Linked DNA regions of Homo sapiens: region 1 is linked to region 2. Evidence: promoter capture Hi-C in human tissues and cell types (Jung and others, 2019). All regions are on one chromosome and are shown on one strand. Each heading gives the region's core, a stretch centred on a gene start or on the middle of the fragment in contact. The rest is flanking DNA. Distances are from core to core; before and after follow the strand shown.

Region 1 (3,637 bases), core at 229-2,728, 38 kb after region 2:
ACACCATGGCACGAGAACTTCGTGACACATGCACAAGCTTCAATAGCTGATGCAATCAAGTGGAAGAAAGGATATCAGTGATTGAAGATCAAATTAATGAAATAAAGTGAGAAGAGAAGTTTAGAGAAAAAAGAGTAAAAATGAATGAACAAAGCCTCCAAGAAATATGGGACTATGTGAAAAGACAAAATCTACGTTTGATTGGTGTACCTGAAAGTGACGGGGAGAATGGAACCAAGTTGGAAAATACTCTTCAGGATATCATCCAGGAGAACTTCTCCAACCTAGCATGGCAGGCCAACATTCAAATTCAGGAAATACAGAGAACATCACAAAGATACTCCTTGAGAAGAGCAACCCTAAGACACATAACTGTCAGATTCACTAAGGGTGAAATGAAGGAAAAAATGTTAAGGGCAGCCAGAGAGAAAGGCCAGGTTACCCACAAGGGGAAGCCCATCAGACTAACAGCGGATCTCTCAGCAGAAAATCTATAAGCCAGAAGACAGTGGGGGCCAATACGCAACAATCTTAAAAGAATTTTCAACCCAGAATTTCATATCCAGCCAAACTAAGCTTCATAAGTGAAGGAGAAATAAAATCCTTTACAGACAAGCAAATGCTGAGAGATTTTGTCACCACCAGGCCTGCCTTACAAGTGCTCCTGAAGGAAGCACTAAACATGGAAAGGAACAACTGACACCAGCCACTGCAAAAACATGCCAAATTGTAAAGACCATTGATGCTATGAAGAAACTGCATCAATTAATGGGCAAAATAACCAGCTAACATCATAATGACAGGATCAAATTCATACATAACAATATTAACCTAAAAGGTAAATGGGCTAAATGCCCCAATTAAAAGACACAGACTGGCAAATTGGATAAAGAGTCAAGACCCATCAGCGTGCTGTATTCAGGAGACCCATCTCACGTGCAGAGACACACATGGCTCAGAATAAAAGGATGGAGGAATATCTACCAAGCAAATGGAGAGCAAAAAAAAAGCAGGGGTTGCAATCCTAGTCTCTGATAAAACAGACTTTCAACCAACAAAGATCAAAAGAGACAAAGAAGGCTATTACATAATGGCAAAGGGATCAATTCAACAAGAAGAGCTAACTATCCTAAATATATATGCACCCAATACAGGAGCACCCAGATTCTAAGCAAGTCCTTAGAGACCTACAAAGAGGCTTAGACTCCCACACAATAATAATGGGAGATTTTAACACCCCACTGTCAATATCAGACAGATTAATGAGATAGATGGTTGAGAAGGATATCCAGGACTTGAACTCAGCTCTACACCAAGCAGACCTAATAGAAATCTACAGAACTCTCCACCCCAAATCAACAGAATATACATTCTTCTCAGCACCACATCGTACTTATTCTAAAATTGACCACATAGTTGGAAGTAAAGCACTCCTCAGCAAACGTAAAAGAACAGAAATCACAACAAACTGTCTCTCAGACCACAGTGCAATCAAATTAGAACTCAGGATTAAGAAACTCACTCAAAACCACACAACTACAAGGAAACTGAACAACCTGCTCCTGAATGACTACTGGGCAAATAATGAAATGAAGGCAGAAATAAATACGTTCTTTGAAACCAAGAAGAACAAAGACACAACTTACCAGAATCTCTGGGACACATTTAAAGCAGTATAGAGAGGGAAATTTATAGCATCAAATGCCCACAAGAGAAAGCAGGAAAGATCTAAAATCGACACCTTAACCTCACAATTAAAAGAAGTAGACAAGCAAGAGCAAACAAATTCAAAAGCTAGCAGAAGGCAAGAAATAACTAAGATCAGAGCAGAACTGAAGGACATAGACACACAAAAAACCCTTCAAAAAATCAAGGAATCCAGGAACTGGTTTTTTGAAAGAATCAACAAAATTAACATACCCCTAGCAATACTAATAAAGAAGAAAAGAGAAAGGAATCAAATAGACGCAATAAAAAATGATAAAGGGGATATCACCACCGATCCCACAGAAATACAAACTACCATCAGAGAATACTATAAACACCTCTACGCAAATAAACTAGACAATCTAGAAGAAATGGATAAATTCCTGAACACATACATCCTCCCAAGACTAAACCAGGAAGAATTTGAATGTCTGAATAGACCAATAACAGGTTCTGAAATTGAGGCAATAATTAATGTCCTACCAACCAAAAAAAGTCCAGGAGCAGATGGATTTACAGCTGAATTCTACCAAAGGTACAAAGAGGAGCTGGTACCATTCCTTCTGAAACTATTCCAATCAATAGAAAAAGCGGGACTCCTCCCTAACTCATTTTATGAGGTCAACATCACCCTGACACCAAAACCTGGCAGAGACGCAACAAAAAAATAGAATTTTAGACCAATATCCCTGATGAACATTGATGCAAAAATCCTCAATAAAATACTGGCAAACGGAATCCAGCAGCACATCAAAAAGCTTATCCACCACGATCAAGTCGGCCTCATCTCTAGGATGCAAGGCTGGTTAAACATATGCAAATCAATAAACATACTTCACCACATAAACAGAACCAAAGACAAAAACCACATGATTATCTCAATAGATGCAGAAAAGGCCTTCAACAAAATTCAACAGCCTTCATGCTAAAAACTCTCAGGGAACTAGGTATTGATGGAATACATCTCAAAATAATAAGAGCTATTTATGACAAATCCTCAGCGAATATCATTCTAAATGGGCAAAAACTGGAAGCATTACCTTTGAAAACTGACACACGACAGGGATGTCCTCTCTCACCACTCCTATTCAACATAGTTTTGGAAGTTCTGGCCAGGGATTTCCGTCAAGAGAAAGAAACAAAGGGTATTCAATTAGGAAAAGAGGAAGTCAAATTGTCTCTGTTTGCAGATGACATGATTGTATATTTAGAAAACCCCATCGTCTCAGCCCAAAATCTCCTTAGGCTGGTAAGCAACTTCAGCAAAGTCTCAGGATACAAAGTCAATGTGCAAAAATCACAAGCTTTCCTACACACCAATAACAGACAAGCAGAAAGCCAAATCATGAGTGAACTCTCACTCACAATTGCTACAAGGAGAATAAAATACCTAGGAATCCAACTTACAAGGGATGTGAAGGACCTCTTCATGGAGAACTATGATCCACTGCTCAACGAAATAAAAAAGGACACAAACAAATGGAAGAACATTTCATGCTCATGGATAGGAAGAATCAATATTGTGAAAATGGCCATACTGCCCAAGGTGATTTATAGATTCAATGCCATTCCCATCAAGCTACCAATGTCTTTCTTCACAGAATTGGACAAAACTACTTTAAAGTTCATATGGAACCAAAAAAGAGCCCTCATTACCAAAGCAATCCTAAGCAAAAAGAACAAAGCTGGAAGCTTCACGCTACCTGACTTCAAACTATGCTACAGTAACCAAAACAGCATGGTACAGCATGGTACCGGTACCAAAACAGAGATATAGACCAATGGACCAGAACAGAGGCCTCAGAAATAACACCACACATCTACAACCATCTGATCTTTGACAAACCTGAGAAAAACAAGAAATGGAGAAAGGATTTCCTATTTCTTAAATGGTGTTGGGAAAACTGGCTAGCCATATATAGAAAGCTGA
Region 2 (3,533 bases), core at 132-2,631:
AAGTTTATCCTGGGACTGGACTGAAGCTTGAAAGTTTTGTGGGGTTAGGAATTGTCAAAATTCTACATATTATCCTCATAATTTTCACTTATCTTCCTCTGCTTCCACCCCCCTTTAGAAATCCTTGTGTAATGCCATTTGTAACAGATGTTTAAGCCACTTAATAAATATCATAAACACAGACTTAAGAAAAATCAAATACACTCATGCAATCGCACTCTTGTGATTATAGCTCAGTACTAAAAGTGAAAACAAAATAAAATGAATTTTAGGCCCATAGAAATAATGTTTTGCAACATTTGTAAGGGCATATCTTAAAAAGAAAGCATTTTATGGTTCATATTTTTCTCTTATGTCAGGACTGAGAAGAAAGTGTTCAAAAAATTTAAAGATCTGTAAACATTAGAAAGCAGTAAAGCAGTAAAATAAAAACTTTCTGGAAATCAAAGAGTATATAGCACAATGATTGAAACTTCACGTACACACATAGTTTAATCAGTATCCTAGACCTTGTTAGAGATTTTGTTTGCAATCCTTTTGATATAGTGGCTTTAATTTCCACATGAAATAAAATGGGATAGTTTATAATGTTATAAGAATCAGTTTATAGTATTAATAAAGAAGTGATATATTATTTCACTTTTGAAATTTGTGGAAGAGCTCAGAAGAAACAATTTTTTGGCAGTTCACTGGTTTATATATAAAAATAATATTTTCTATTGTTTCATTAAAATATATTTCCCTGTTGAATGATAATTAGGCTGAAATGAGAATTCCTTCATTTTAATAACATTTAAAATGTAAATTATCAAATCTATGAAAATAAAATTCTCAAAACATAATGAAGGTGGCCAAATCTTTTGGGGTTGATTTTTCTAGTCAGTGGCATTGCAGAGTTTATGCAGAATTACACTAATATTTCACCTTGTCATCTTTATTATAGCAGATTTTCTCTCCTTTGATTTCTCTTTACATTATCTATTTGGTGACCATTTACCCTTAGCAAACTAGAGAACGGAGAGAATTAATTTCATTCAATTTTCCTGCTAATTGCATGTTGGAAAATATTTCCAGAAAATAGATGAATATTGTGATACCCCTTCAAATTATCCTCAGCTATTTATTCATTTAAAAATATTTGTATGCATACACACACACAATCAATAAATACATTTGAAAAGGAACTAAAATATTCGGATCTGTTTTCAACTTACCTTCTCCCCCAACAGTGGATACCCATGAGATTAGGATTACACTGAATAAGAGCAACATGCTTGGTAGTCTCAATCGTATATAACTAAAAATACTCCAGTGATGGTGGTGTTGCTTTAAATCTGCTTTCATTAACAGTTACAAGCATGACTTTGAATTTCAATGTACTAAGGGGAAGCTAGTTTAGTAAAGCCCTTTGTGGAAAACATCAAAGTTCATGGAGGGTTGTGTGAAATAAGCAAATAGTATCTAATCAGTGTCTTCACAATAATATTCTCAGCTCGTTATGTAATATTTATTTAAGCAAAATAACTGCTGTTCAATTTCCTTGTTGTAGTCACCGAGTCTCTGAGTTTGGAACAATCAGAAATGGACTGTTTAGAGGAGAGAGGAAGCTCCCCACCGCCGGCCCCCTGGGTTTTTTTTTTTTTTCTAGCCAAGGGTTCAGCTGTTTCAAAAGGCAAGCAAGTGCAAGTCATCAGTCCTCATCTTAATACAACAATATCACTTTTGTAGTTGTAAATTCCCTTTTAAAACTGGCACTAAGAATTAGGTACCTTCTTAACAGTTTTAATATTTCATAAACTATAAAAGGTCTAATCAAGAATTATTTTTGCTGGCCGGGCGCAATGGCTCAAGCCTGTAATCCCAGCACTTTGGGAGGCCGAGGCGGGTGGATCACAAGGTCAGGAGATCGAGACCATCCTGGCTAACACGGTGAAACCCGTCTCTACTGAAAAATACAAAAAAAATTTAGCCAGGCGTGGTGGCGGGCGCCTGTAGTCCCAGCTACTCGGGAGGCTGAGGCAGGAGAATGGCGTAAAACCGGGAGGCAGAGCTTGCCGTGAGTGGAGATCGCGCCACTGCACTCCAGCCTGGGCGACAGAGCGAGACTCTGTCTCAAAAAAAAAAAAAAAAAAAAAAAGAATAATTTTTGCCAAGTAACGTTTCCTGAAATGTTTGAAGAACAGAATTATAATTCAAAATCATTTTGTTCAGGTGGGACTTCGAGAATGGCTATGTGAGGGTCTTGGTATATTCACTCCCAACCAAAAGGCAGCAATAAAACTGGATAAAAATTTAAAAGTAACCATTGGTTGTCTCTGGAAATTGGCCAAACAGCATAATGTTGGGAAATATTTTTTCCAGAAAGTCTCCATAAAATTCAGTAAAAGAGAGCGGATGCTTTCATCCACCTCTGTCTCGCAGCCCAATTCCGTGGCTCAGAAGTTGAACCCTGGATGGGCAGGCAGGCTATGTGGACTGGAAGCTCTGCTCCCCTGCTGGAGAAGAGTGACTTTATAGCTTGGAAAGGTCCATGCCCGAGGATCCTATTGAATACAAAGAGATTACAGTGGGAAACAATCAGAGAAGACTAGAGGATACTAGCTGAAGCAAGCAACAAAGTGCCCAGCCTGAGAGAAATTTAACATTTAATGGGGAAATTTACAGAAACAGCCTAATGATCTCACTAAGAGGAAACTTACTTATGGTGGTTCAGAAGTCAATGGGAATGCACATAGCTATGTCCAATCAAGAAACCAGAGAAGTCCCTGTGAGCTATTAGTAGTCTCCACTATTGATTCTAGTCTATCTAAACCTTGTCATTTCCAATTACTACACTACCTAAAGTATCTAAATATTAAGCATCACACTCTAGACCATTTCAACAATCTTTTTAGCTCACTTACTCTACTAAATTTGTTCCAAACATTCAATGACCCTGACACTTTTTCACTATTCTCTTCCCTTCATTTTCTCTCTTCCCACCACATCTAAATTAGATTCCATGGCTCATCACTGTCAGTCAGTCCCTTGCACACACTCTCCTGCCCATTCGTTCCTTTCTATCTGTAATCCAAGTCTTAGAAAACCTCAATCCTTTGCAAATAAATTCTCTACCTGCCCTGTGCCTGAATTGAAGCAGCAGAGTGTGTCTACAAGAAAAACAAAGGCAACTGTGCTGACTTGCCTTGCTTTAAATTAATGAACACGGTCCTAAATAATTTCCACACTGCTTTTCCCCTCTCCTGTTTTCATTATCTCCCTCCTTAACCACCAATCCTCACTTTGTGCTTTGCTAATGACTTCATTTATTTTTTCATCTAGATATAGAATCAATCAGAAGAAAACTACCTGCTGTTCACACGCATCCTTTTCTGCATTGTCTCTTGCTTCACTGGATGTTGATCTTTACTCCTATCTTGTTATGGTCTCTACCAGATTTGATCCCATCTTTTCTGTGCAAGGATTTTGCTCTTTCAATTATTCCTTCTCACCTGTATCATTAATTTCTCCATTTTCCAAATTATTTCCACCAA

The links. The method cuts DNA at HindIII sites, captures the fragments that hold promoters and counts their contacts. A contact is called where the count stands out against the background at its distance.
Region 1: a fragment that was not itself captured here is called in contact with the fragment with the promoter of CFHR5 in region 2 in 1 of the 25 tissues and cell types used here (adrenal gland).

Annotation. Positions count from the first base shown.
Region 1 is chr1:196,937,162-196,940,798 of GRCh38, reverse strand. No RefSeq gene overlaps it. Among named protein-coding and RNA genes, the nearest start is that of CFHR2, 4.8 kb to the left of the region's middle. The HindIII fragment of the contact is 3,455 bases long and covers 1-3,205 here.
Region 2 is chr1:196,975,404-196,978,936 of GRCh38, reverse strand. It overlaps CFHR5 (complement factor H related 5), which reads right to left and starts at 1,381. Exons shown (of 10, transcript NM_030787.4): 1 at 1,215-1,381. The coding sequence starts at 1,272. The HindIII fragment of the contact is 10,428 bases long and covers 1-3,533 here.